Linked DNA regions of Homo sapiens: regions 1 and 2 are each linked to region 3. Evidence: promoter capture Hi-C in 16 types of primary human blood cells and fetal thymus (Javierre and others, 2016). All regions are on one chromosome and are shown on one strand. The core of a region is centred on a gene start or on the middle of the fragment in contact, and the rest is flanking DNA. Distances in the headings are between cores, read along the strand shown.

Region 1 (3,736 bases), core at 293-2,792, 150 kb before region 3:
GAACCCAGGAGGCGGAGGCTGCAGTGAGCCGAAATCACGCCACTGCACTCCAGCCTGGGCAACAGAGGGAGACTCCGTCACAAAAAATAAAATAAAAAAAATTTTTTTTTAAAAAAAGAGCACTAAAGACAGGCTGAAATATTATGGGGGCCTCTTTAGGTCACTTTTGGCCGTCTTCAAAAACAGACCTTGCACATTGCCAACAGAGGCCCCTTCAGAGTCAGAAAGGAATCTAGGCAAGCTTCATAATCATATAAGAAGTGTGCAATTCAGACTTTTCAAGGCCCTCCCCCGCTCTTTTTTTTTTTTTTTTTTTTTTTTTTTTTTTTTTGGCAGGGCCTTACTCGCCCAGGCTGTAGTACAGTGGCATGATCATGGCTCACTGCAGCCTTGACCTCCTCAGGTTCAGGTGATCCTCCCACCTCAGCCTCCCGAGTAGCTGGGACTAGAGATGCACGATAACGCCCAGCTAATTTTTGTATTTTTAGTAGAGACGGGATTTCACCATGTTGACCAGGCTGCTCTTGAACTCCTGGCCTCAAGCGATCTGCCTGCCTCAGCCTCCCAAAGAGCTAGGATTAAAAGCGTGAGCCACCGCACCCAGCCCCAACAGTATACTTTTGAGAACATCACAGGGATGCCCTTCCTCACTTCTCCCCATCATAATTCCTTCCCCAATTTATATTCATTTATGGAGATGACCAGACACAGGCAATTTCCATGCTTGAGTGCTGTGAACTTTCTTACTGTTATTCTAAAGCTTACTTTGGACTCTTCTTTTACAAAGGATAAAATGCAATATAAGACCCACTAAATTATCCAGACTGGGGTAGAGGGGTCCTTTTGCTACAAAGCCAGGAAATGGAAAAGTTATAATCAAGCAATGAATTCCTGGCATGGGGTGAAAGGCACTCATTAAGCCTAACCATCTCAGCATTCCTGGAATTAAGTGGGAAATAGGGAGCAAACACTCAATATACGATTGAAAAGTTGTTGGGACAAAAGGGCACAACATAATTAAAGACAGAAGAAAATGAGTCAGTCATGTGGCAAAGTATCAGCAGGAAGGGTGAGAAAAACAACATCTCAAAAGATGAATACTACTTCAATATGTGAGGGCTTTGTTATTGGGTAAATAAAAGAGATGGAGAAACAACTAGGGCTAAAGAGAAGTACAGCTGAGCTTTCTAGTGCTATCTGAATGAAATGGGGGCAAATGCCTTTGAAAACAACATAGGCAGCAGTCCACAAACCCTGTGGGCAGAGAAGAACATTTAGTAGACTGTGTATTAGCAAGGGGGCCATCTAAGAGGGTCCAGGGAAACCACACATATTGGTCTCTTCTTAGTACATTTAAAAGCAAATATTTTAAACTAAGAAAATTCCCAAATCATATTTCCACAAGCAGAATCCTGTGAGTAACTAAAGATAACTAAAAACCATGCTTACATAATCAGTATTTTCCCCTTATAAAACACGTCCATGTTTACTATGTTATTTGGAGCACTTTAAACAACCATAAGAGATGGGGATTATTTTCCTCACTCTACAAATAAGAAAAAGGAGCCCAGAAAAATGAAGTAATTAATCTGAAGTCAACAAGTTAGTGACAGATCCAGAATTAGAGCCTTAATTCTCTAATTCCCCTACCTCCAAGTCCTGCCTTCATTCCTACTTCTCTAGGAGTCTAGATTCTATGAGCAGTATTTTGAGAAGTCAGTACCACACTGTTGAAAAGAAAGGGATTTTATAGGTAAATTAGTTCTGGCTGTTGGAATAAATAGCTTTAACAAAACTGAGAAGCCCACAAAAAGTCATCTGATGGAGAAAAGTAAAACAGAATTCCCATCTTACCATCATGCCCCTAATAAAAATGAATATTGATCAACGCATACATTTCAACATTTAAGTCCCCAATAAGTCTGGGATGGGTACAAGGACCAGTATTTCCAATAATTTTCTGCTGGTGCTGGTCATGATGGTACTGCCGGTCTAAGGACCACACAAAAAGATTATTTTTAGGCTGTTAAAATAATTAGACTTCATAAAAATGAAACACTTAAGTAGAAATCTAGCAAAATACATAAAATATCTATATAAGGAAACTACAAAACTCTGATGAAAAAAATCAAAAAAGATATAAATAAATGGAGAGATAACCCACGTTTATAATTAGGAAAAGTCAATATTTTTAAGATATCAGTTTTTCCCTGGTAGCTTAAAAGCAAATCCTAATCAAAATCAAAAAGATATCTCTAGGATCTTAAAAGCAATCCCAGTCAAAATCCCAGCAAGTTATTTTGTGGATATGAACAAACTGATTCTTAAGCTTATACCTGACTTCAATGCTTTTTACTACAGTGCAATTACTACCATGCTAAAGTAATGAAGATAGTGTGGTATTTGTGAAAGAATAGATAAATAGATCAATGCAACAGAAATAGAGAGCCCAGATACAGACCCATATAAATATAGTCAAGTGATCTTTGATAAAGGACAAAAGGTAATTCAAGGAGAAAGAATAGTATTTTCAAAAAACAGTGTTGGAGCAACTGGATATCCACATGCAAAACAGTGAATCTAGACACAGACCTTATATCCTTCATAAAAATTAATTCAAAATGAATCATTGACCTAAATGTAAAACAAAAAGCTAAAAAATTCCAAAAATATAACATAGGAGAAAATCTGGGTGACCTTGGATTTGGAAAAGACTTTTTAGATATAACACCAAAAGTATGATCCATTAAAGCAAAAATGTGTAAGTTGGACTTCATTAAAATTAAAAACCTATGCAATGCAAAAGAGACTATTAAGAAAATAAAAAGACAAGCCACAGACGAGGAGAAAATCTTTGCAAATGCCTATTGGATAAAGGTCTGGAATCTAAAATATACAAAGAACTCTTAAAACTTAACAAAAGAAAATCAATTTAATAATAGGCAAAAGAACTGAACAAATACCTCACCAGAAAGGATATACCGATGGCAGTTAAGCATATGGAAAGATGCTCTGCATGATATGTGATTAGGGAGTTGCAAATTACAACAGTAATGAGATACCACTACACATCCGTGAGAATGGCTAAAATCCAGAACACTGACAACAGCAAATGCTGGTAAGAACATGGAGCTGGCGAGGACATGGAGCAACAGGATCTCTGATTCATTGCTGGTTATGCGAAATGGCACAGCTATTTTGGAAGTTGGTTGGCAATTTCTTACAAAATTAAACATACCCTGACAATTTACACTCCAGCAATTACACTCCTTATTATTTAACCAAATCAGTTGGAAATTTGTATCAACACAAAAACCTACATACAACTGTTTATAATAGTTTTCCTTATAATTGCCAAAATAACCAAGATGTCCCTCAGTAGGTGAGTGGACAAACTGTGGTAAATCATACAATGGGATATTACTTAATGATAAAAATAAATGACAGGAAAATAAAATGCATATTGCTAAGTCAAATACGCCAATCTGAAATGGCTACATACTGTTTGATATCTACTATAAACATTCTGGAAAAGGCAAAACACAATAAAAAGAAAGATCAGTGGTTGTCAGGGTTTCAGGACTGGAGAAGGAAGAGAAGGATGAATAGATTGGACAAAAGAAATGTTCACGGCCATGAATCTATTCTGTATGGTGACACTGTAATGGTGGATACATGTCATTATATATTTGTCAAATCTATAAAATGTATAATACCAAGAGTAAATTCTAATGTA
Region 2 (4,125 bases), core at 1,146-3,645, 240 kb before region 3:
ACAAATAAGGAAGTTAACAGTTTTATATTGCATCTATCAATATTTATATCTAGAACTTCCTGGTCTATATTTTAGATATTCCTATGAGAGTTAATATTTGGAGGATGGTTTTGAATAAATGAAATACACCAACTCTACCACTTTCCTTAATACTTGAATCAAATTCTACTGCCGTGTGTGATTTGAAGGAGCCACTTCAGTCCTATTAAAGCCCATAAGAGAATCAGTGGGATGCCTGGCATGGCATTTTTTAGCTTATTATACAACAGATATAAGAGTGATACTGGAAACAGAATTTTCAATAGTTCAATAGTTATCTGAATAAATATCTGAGTTCAATAATTTTTCAGAGATTCAATATGCTGGACCACGATGTCAGCTGATTTACATATGAAAAAGTGTCCTTAGCTAATGAGATGGGTTGCAAATTGACCAGGAATAAGCAATCCAAATTTTTAAAAGTCAAGAATGTAAGGTGATTAATGAAAACAGATGATGAGGTACTAATGATGTAATCTGGAATTCAAAAACCACACCTGCTATGACTGAGTGCTGTAACATCCTCAAATGTGAGTAGGGTTGGTTGTCAGACCTGCAGGCTTGTGAGAGATTAGCTATGCATCACAGTAAGGACCAAAAAATATGTATTTTATCCAAACTGCAGTTTTCCACACTCAATTTGTTCTCTGACACTGTGAAAACTCAGCTTACAAGATGCTTCACTGCCACCCACGAAAGGAAGAAGGGTAGGTTTGCAGGGAGAGAAATGCAGGTAGATACCTGTGAACCATCTATGTAAAGAGAGCTTGTGCAGAGACTCCAATATTGACTCCCTCAGCCTTTAGGGCTTCTTGCCTCAGTGATGTCCATTTACCCGAGCATGCTATATAAAGATGATCATTCTGATATGTGCCATGACCTTAATATGACTGAGAAGCACAAGTGCAGTGGGCAAGTGAATATTTGCATTTAGAACTCATCAGATGATGTCTGGAACAGAGATTTTGTGAGTTGTCAGCATAGAGGTGCTAGTAAAAAGCATAAAGAGAGAATACCACTGCCAGCCATGGTGGACTAACTGGTATCAGACTTGCCTTCCTGCTGTAACAACTAGAAAACTGGACAGTATATAGGAAACTCCTGCATGTAGTTATTGAGCAACAGACAAAACAGGACTATGACTCTGAGAAGAGGGATACAAACAAGATAACTGCTACCTTCTCCACAGCTTGCTTCTTAAAAGCACTTTTTAGATTGCAGCAGATGGAGTGGGAACTCAAGCTGAGCATGGAAGTCTTGCTCAGCTGAAGAGATAAGGATCAAAGTTTAGGAAGGTTGAAGCAGCTATAACTAGCAAGGCACAGTACCAGAGAAGAGTGAGCTATGTGGAAAAAGAGCTCAACAACCTTACCTGGGGGTGGATACTTTATATCTGGCCCAACAAAGCTTAAAAAGAAGACTCAAATAAATCAAATTGATCCACAAATAACTGCCCACAAAACAAAATTCAGTCCTCTTTAAAAGAAATCAACAAAATCAAGACATTCAGTAAGTCACAACATCCAGCAACCAATAAAGATTACAAGAAATGTTTTTTAAGAAACAAAAATGTGAGCCATAACCAGAATAAAAAAAAATCAATCAATAGAAAAACATATTAAAAAAAAAGAAGTAAACCAAGAACAAAGATAGAACTGTAGGAAACACACAGTCAAGGTGTAAAAAACAGAAAGATAAAGGTTCAGCAAGTTATTGAAAAGGAATCCTATAAGATGTTAGAAGAGGTCAGGCATTGTGGCTCATGCCTGTAATCCCAGCACTTTGGGAGGCAAAGGCAAGAGGATGATTGAAGGCCAGAAGTTCAAGACCAGCCTAGGCAATATAGTGAGACCCCATCACTACAAAAAAATTAAAAATCAGCCTGGTGTAGTGGCACACGCCTATAGTCCCAGCTACCCAGGAGGCTCAGGTTGAGGATGCAGTGAGCCATGATCATGCCACTGCACTCCAGCCTAGGCGACAGAGCTAGACCCTGTCTCAAAAAAAAAAAAAAAAGATGTGAGAAGAATCAGAAGAGTGCTGATGTGTTATGGAAGTCACGAAGTCATGTAAGGAGAAAGTTTCAAAAAAGAGAAAGTGGTCAACAAGGAGATCAAGTAAGACACAAACTCAAAAGTATTCACTGGATTTGGTAAGAAGATACCGACTAAGCCTGGCCACACAGTTCCAGTTGAGATGTAGGGAAAGAAGTTGTATTGCTGAGGGTTTCTGGAGTGAATGGGATACGAGGAAGGAGAGATAACAGCCATTTTCAAGGTACGATTGACTCTGCCCAGGGTGGGCAAGTATGTGTATGTTTTACTTTAGAAAATACTTTTTTCAACTATTCTACCACATTTTAGCAGTGTCTCCTTTCTCTTCCAGTCACATTTCTTTGTAACACATAAAGTACTCCCAATAAGAATTATCAAAGTAAAATTGTTACCAAAAAAGGCATTCAGCAGCTTCTGAACCTGAATATTGCTGCCCACAGTGCGGTACAACCCTTCTGTCTTGATCCCTAGTGGAGGAAAAAATCAGGTTAATTTCACTTGTATAGCTAGAGTTGTCATCTCCCCTTGGTACACTAGGGTCAATTCAGATAGGAAGGGGTCACACTACATACTCCAAGTTCTCCAGCCTTCCCTGTAACAGGGGAATAGTCCTACAGCATCTCTCCAAATTATCCATCCTTTCATTTGGAGTGTACCAAACCCTCATTAATCTGAAGAGAAGAAAACAAACTCTATAGTAAATAGAAGCATATGCTTAGTTTGGGCGGCAGCAGAAAGCTGAGAATGGTGCTGCCATCTTAGAAAGAAGTTCATTCAATTGAAAAAGGAGGAAGGATCAACCCTCAAGTTGCTTCTAAGCAGTGATATAAATCACGAGAGGGCTGGAGTAAGGCAGCTGTGAAACAAAAGGCCATTTCCTGCACCAAGAAAGACTAAAAAAACATTTCAAAGAACAAAGAGACTTGATTCACATACCACACTTGCCCACAGTCTAAATATCCTCAGAAGGAAACCAGGGAGTATCGGCAACCAGGAAGAATGCTGATTCCACATCTCCCTGAGTTTGGCTCTGCCCCATCAATTTTCATACCAGTATGTACTGTGGCAGAAATTGAACTCTTGATCATTTAGGATAGAACCATCATGACACTGCTTAAGGAGTGCCAGGTACTGTTTGAGAATACTTTATAAACTTATAAGCTCTTTAAAAGCAGGAATCCAAATTATCCAAATATGCTTGCATACCACTAGTTTAGAATTTTCTGAAATTTTCTAGCTTGCATCTACTACACAAGCTTTATAAACAGTCTTCATTCCTAAAACGCTACTTCAGAGAAATTGCCCAGGATAAAATCAGAGTGACGAGATTCAGACAATGCCAAGACTATGGTTCAGATCTTACCTTTGGTCTCAATAATATTGATGCACTTCCTGACAAACTTGAAGCCCACTTCATTTAGCTCCACTGTTTCAAGCAAAGGAAAAGAGTTAGATCCTGCTGCAACAGGTGTCACCTATTAAACATTTAATGACCATGCAAAGGGACTGCATTGAGAGAGCTAAGGGTTTTTAGTTGCTCATTTCTAGTCACCCTTAAATGGAAAGAGTCATTTTTTCAGGGGAGGTTTAACATTTTAACTCTTATAACACAAAATACTTATATTTAGCCCTTTGAATTGTCTGCTTTCAGCATGAGCAAAGTCATATGTGAAATGTTAGCCTAAAAATACAATTTCTATCATGCTTCCAGAACAGGAAGGATATGTTTCTCTACCCACGATGTAAGCTAACACCAAGTGTCTACCTTAGTTCAATTACCAGACACATTTAAAAAATATATGGCTGAATTTTATTTCACACAAAGGCATCCATATTCAGACTTGCGTTAGTAGTACACATCATTAATGATGGTATTTACTATGAATCGGACAGCTGGCAGTTTATAATGCTAGTAGACCAAAAACTTAAGTGACTCACTTTCTTGCTGTTTTGTTATAGGGCTGTGGTAGATCTACAAAAGAAGATAAACAGAAAGATCCATGGCTATTGTCAATCAATATAGGAAAACAGA
Region 3 (3,902 bases), core at 169-2,668:
ACAATGGGGGAAGGAGAGAGCTTCCCACAGCTGAGTCAGCTGTGAGCACTGGAAAAGCGAAGCTAGGTGAAGTTCCTTCAGCCCAGCAGCCCCCAACCCTATCCCTATTTTACTCCCTGGGGGCTGGGCCCCTTGTGGCAGGGACTAAGTAGTCAGCTCTTTGTTCCACACTCAAGCAGAATTCAGTGGCAGGTGAAGCCATCCAATAATCCTGAACTTAGACTGACCTTGACCTAAACCATAGCTCAGTGTGATAAAGAAAATAATTCACTGGGGCAAAGGTGCTTTCCTTAAAAAATAACTTGCCATGGCGAATTTTTTACTGCCCCCCACACTTATCTGTAGCAACCAGAGACCAGGACAAAATTATTATTCAAGCTGCTGACCTTAATCCCCAATTGTTTAGGAGGTGCTGGGGCAGTTCCTTGGTCAGCTTGGATGTCACTTTGCCCCAGACAGGGGTGCTGAATATGTCTAACAGTACAGCAGATTGTCCCTTAAGAACAATCATCTGCCAAGTAAGGGTAATTGCTGAGCAAGAGGGTCCCTGGCACAGCTACGGATCACGTCTTATAAGGTCAAAACCACTAAAGGAAAAGGCCCAAAGTTCTGGTTGTATCCACCACTTTCCACTTCTACTATCTCCACTCCCCAAGTGTGGGAAACCCATTTGCCTCAGAGATCTGGGCTGGGAGTCACCCTGCAATCTCCCTTCCCCTGGTGGTGTGGAAAGGCTTAAAGGCCAGACACACCAGCTCAGAGAAACAGCTCATCGAAGCCTTGCACTTACTTCTCATAGCGCTGATAAGCGCGTTGCCGTCTTTGATTACGTCTTTGATGAATTTGTTGGTCCTCTCCAGTTCCTGCTCATAACACTTGAGCCTCTCGCGGAAATCGGGGCTGTCCAGGTAGCAGTCGCTGAACTCCAGCGGGGGATGACCCATGGTTCTGATGGCCGGGAGTAGGGGGAAAGGGGAAAGACACAAAGACCGAGAGCATCAATGGCACAGTAGAGGAAGTAGAGGGGACGGACTGAGCGCGCGACCCGCTTAAGGAAGCTCATAGCCTCCGTCCCTTTGGAGGACAGGTACCTGTTTCAGTGAGACTCCTGAGGAGCGCTGGCTGGTCCGGACAGAGAACAGGCGCCCCGGCGATGGCTTCAGGGCCAGGGAGAGCTAACTATCGCAGTCGGATCCCGGCAGGGTGCTGCCTAGCAAGCAGCATGTCCCTTAGGCATCGCCTTCCCAGATAAGCAGCAAAAACCGCAGCCCGACTTGCCTCCGGAGACGGGCCGGATCCTTCCTGAGCAATTGCAAACGTGACACTTGGGCCCGCCCAAGGTGTAGGCGAGGTTAGAGCTGGAGCTGGGAACAGCCTCTCTACAGGCTCCTCGCTCCGGAGCGAGCGGAAGACTTCCTTGGCCGAACTCCGCGGGCAACCCGGATTGCACTGTCCCCTCCCCTTTCTTAAAGCCAACGCCTGCGCCCCGCCCCAGCGAAGCCCGAGGACCAAACCGGAGCGCTCTGGCTCCTTCCTCAACTGTTTTCCTTGTACCTTAGAGTTTCCTGACCAGGGCCCGCTGGCTGCTAAGACTTCTTCCTGGTGCAAGGGAGCCGGCCGGCCGGCCGTCCTTTTAGGCGCCGGAAGGGTTAAGCCAGGGCGGCAATGAAACGTAGCCTCGCTCCATAGACACTGCAGCGGGAAGAGGAGGGCGAGAGCGCGACGCACAATAGCCGCGGTAGCCCAGCGCTTCCCTACGGAAACTGGGGAGCAGTCAGCGCCCTAGGACTCCAGCTGGAAAGCGTGGCGGCCTGGGAGATGTAGTCTTTCCGTTTGCACTCCCCAAGACTCCTCCCTGCAGTCTCCCCACCACCCCGCCTGGGAGGCTGCTCTCCCAGAACGGCATTCCCAGCCTGCCGCAGGCTCCTGCGCAGGGACCGGCCCCAAGGGGCAGGTGCGCGGCGCTGGACTCTGCGGGGGAAGTTTCCGAAACTAGAGCAAGAACCCGCAAGACTAGATTGCAGGAAGCCATCTCTCAATTCCCATGATTCGGCTGGGTTGTGTATTCTTTTGCCTTCCCCTCTTTCCAGCCTCCTTCGGACCTACCAACTTCTTTTCCTCTTTCTTTTCCCATGTCTCCTGCTCTAAGTGCTCTAATTCCCTTGGGCCTTCGACCTGAAGGGTTGATTCCTACTCTAGGGTCTCCGTGAAGCTCAGTGCCCCCTGCCAAAGAAAGGGAGGCCATAATTCAGAGTTAATATTTTCCTGAATAGGACCTCAGAGCATGGCTTTTGTGGCAGACGCCGATAATGCATATGATTTTCCATGTGTAAGTGGAAAGTCTAAGAATAGGATGTTATAAATTGTCTTGCAGCTTACCTTAAAGGCAGCTGTCTTGAGACTAAGGGTAGGTAGAGGCTCGAAAAACTAAAAAATAGTTTGTGCGTGGGCAAAGAGATCCCTTTAATTCTGCAGAAGTGTTTACATTAGATTGCCCTGTGAAGAAAGCCAGAACGGAAGGGGGTTGTAAATAGAATAATAGTGGCTGACCCACCTGAATTAGGGTCCTGTTGCTGCTGTGACAAATTACCACAAACTTGATGTCCTAAATCAGCATAAAGTTATAATCTACAGTTCCAGAAGGCAGAAATCAGAAATGGGCCTCACTGGGATCAAATCAAGATGTTAGAAGGGTTGTGTTCATTTTCAGATAGTCTAGGGGTAGAATCTGGTTCCTTACCTTTTCCGGCTCAAGCTGCTCACATCCTTTGGCTCATAGCTCCCTTCCTCCGTCTTTAAAGCTAGCACTGGCCAGTCAAGTCTTTCTCATGCTACATCACTGTGATTCTCATGCCTCCCCTTAAGGACCCTTATGATTACACTGGGTCCACAGGATAATCTCCCCCATCACATCATCCTTAATCACATCTGCAAATTTCATTTTGCCACATAAGATAACGTAGCCACAGGTTTCAGGACATGGACATCTGTGAAGGAGGAAACATTATTCTACCCACCACACAACCTATCGCCCATCTCACTAATCTTCAAAACAACCCTATGAGGATGGTTTTATTATTATACCCATTTAAAGATGGAGAAGCTGGGTCAAAGAGAGTTTAAGTGACTTGCCGAAGGACAAACAGCTAGTTAAATGGCAGCACTTGAACTTGAGCCCAGCCTGGCTGGCTCTAGAGGTAGTGCTCTTGACCACTACACTATATAGCAGAATGGCAATGAGAAAACGCCCTCTGAAAATAAATAAGTAGCCACATCTCAGGGGAAAGTTTTGTTTCTTACTCTTTTTATCTTTAAGGTTAATTTATGGGAAAATGTCCAAAATGAGCTTTAAATGCACCATGGGTTGAAAAATGCAGGTACTAAGGGAAGGTACCCATTCAATGGGTATATGGTCTTTCACACTAGTAAGTTTCCTTTTAGCATTCATTCACTCGTTTAACAAGCATTTTTTGAACACCTGCTATATACTTTTATTTATAAAGCCTATACATATATTTTCATCACTATAAAAATTGCCATTGACATTTTTTAAAATTTTATTTATTTATGTATTTTTTTGTTTGAGAAAGGGTCTCACCCTGTTGCCCAGGCTAAAGTGCAATCAATAGCTCAATCACGGCTCCCTGCAGCCTCGACCTCCCTGGGCTCAGGTGATCCTCCCACCTCAGCCTCCTCCTGAGTAGCTAGGACTACAGGCACATGCCACCACACCTGGCCAATTTTTGTATTTTTTTGTAGAGACGGGGTTTCACCATGTTGGCTAGGCTAGTCTCAAACTCCTGGGCTAGAGGGATCCACCCACTGCAGCCCCCACCAAAGTGCTGGGATTACAGGTGTGAGCCACCATGCCCAGCTGCTGTTGACATTATTGATGTTAGATT

Evidence for each region. Contacts are between HindIII fragments. The CHiCAGO score rates a contact against its expected background, and 5 or more counts as called.
Region 1: a fragment that was not itself captured here is called in contact with the fragment with the promoter of OPHN1 in region 3 in 1 of 17 cell types (M1 macrophages); the score reaches 5.8 in M1 macrophages.
Region 2: a contact is called between a fragment that was not itself captured here and the fragment with the promoter of OPHN1 in region 3, in 4 of 17 cell types (M1 macrophages, M0 macrophages, M2 macrophages and 1 more). The highest score is 8.4, in M1 macrophages.

What each region holds. Positions count from the first base shown.
Region 1 is chrX:68,278,805-68,282,540 of GRCh38, forward strand. The region is part of intron 4 of OPHN1 (oligophrenin 1); the gene reads right to left. Among named protein-coding and RNA genes, the nearest start is that of OPHN1, 150 kb to the right of the region's middle. The HindIII fragment of the contact is 1,569 bases long and covers 759-2,327 here.
Region 2 is chrX:68,190,434-68,194,558 of GRCh38, forward strand. OPHN1 (oligophrenin 1) reads right to left here. Exons shown (of 25, transcript NM_002547.3): 13 at 4,032-4,065; 14 at 3,457-3,519; 15 at 2,486-2,560. Among named protein-coding and RNA genes, the nearest start is that of OPHN1, 240 kb to the right of the region's middle. The HindIII fragment of the contact is 1,903 bases long and covers 1,445-3,347 here.
Region 3 is chrX:68,432,077-68,435,978 of GRCh38, forward strand. OPHN1 (oligophrenin 1) reads right to left here and starts at 1,419. Exons shown (of 25, transcript NM_002547.3): 1 at 1,092-1,419; 2 at 791-948. The coding sequence starts at 944. The HindIII fragment of the contact is 12,772 bases long and covers 1-3,902 here.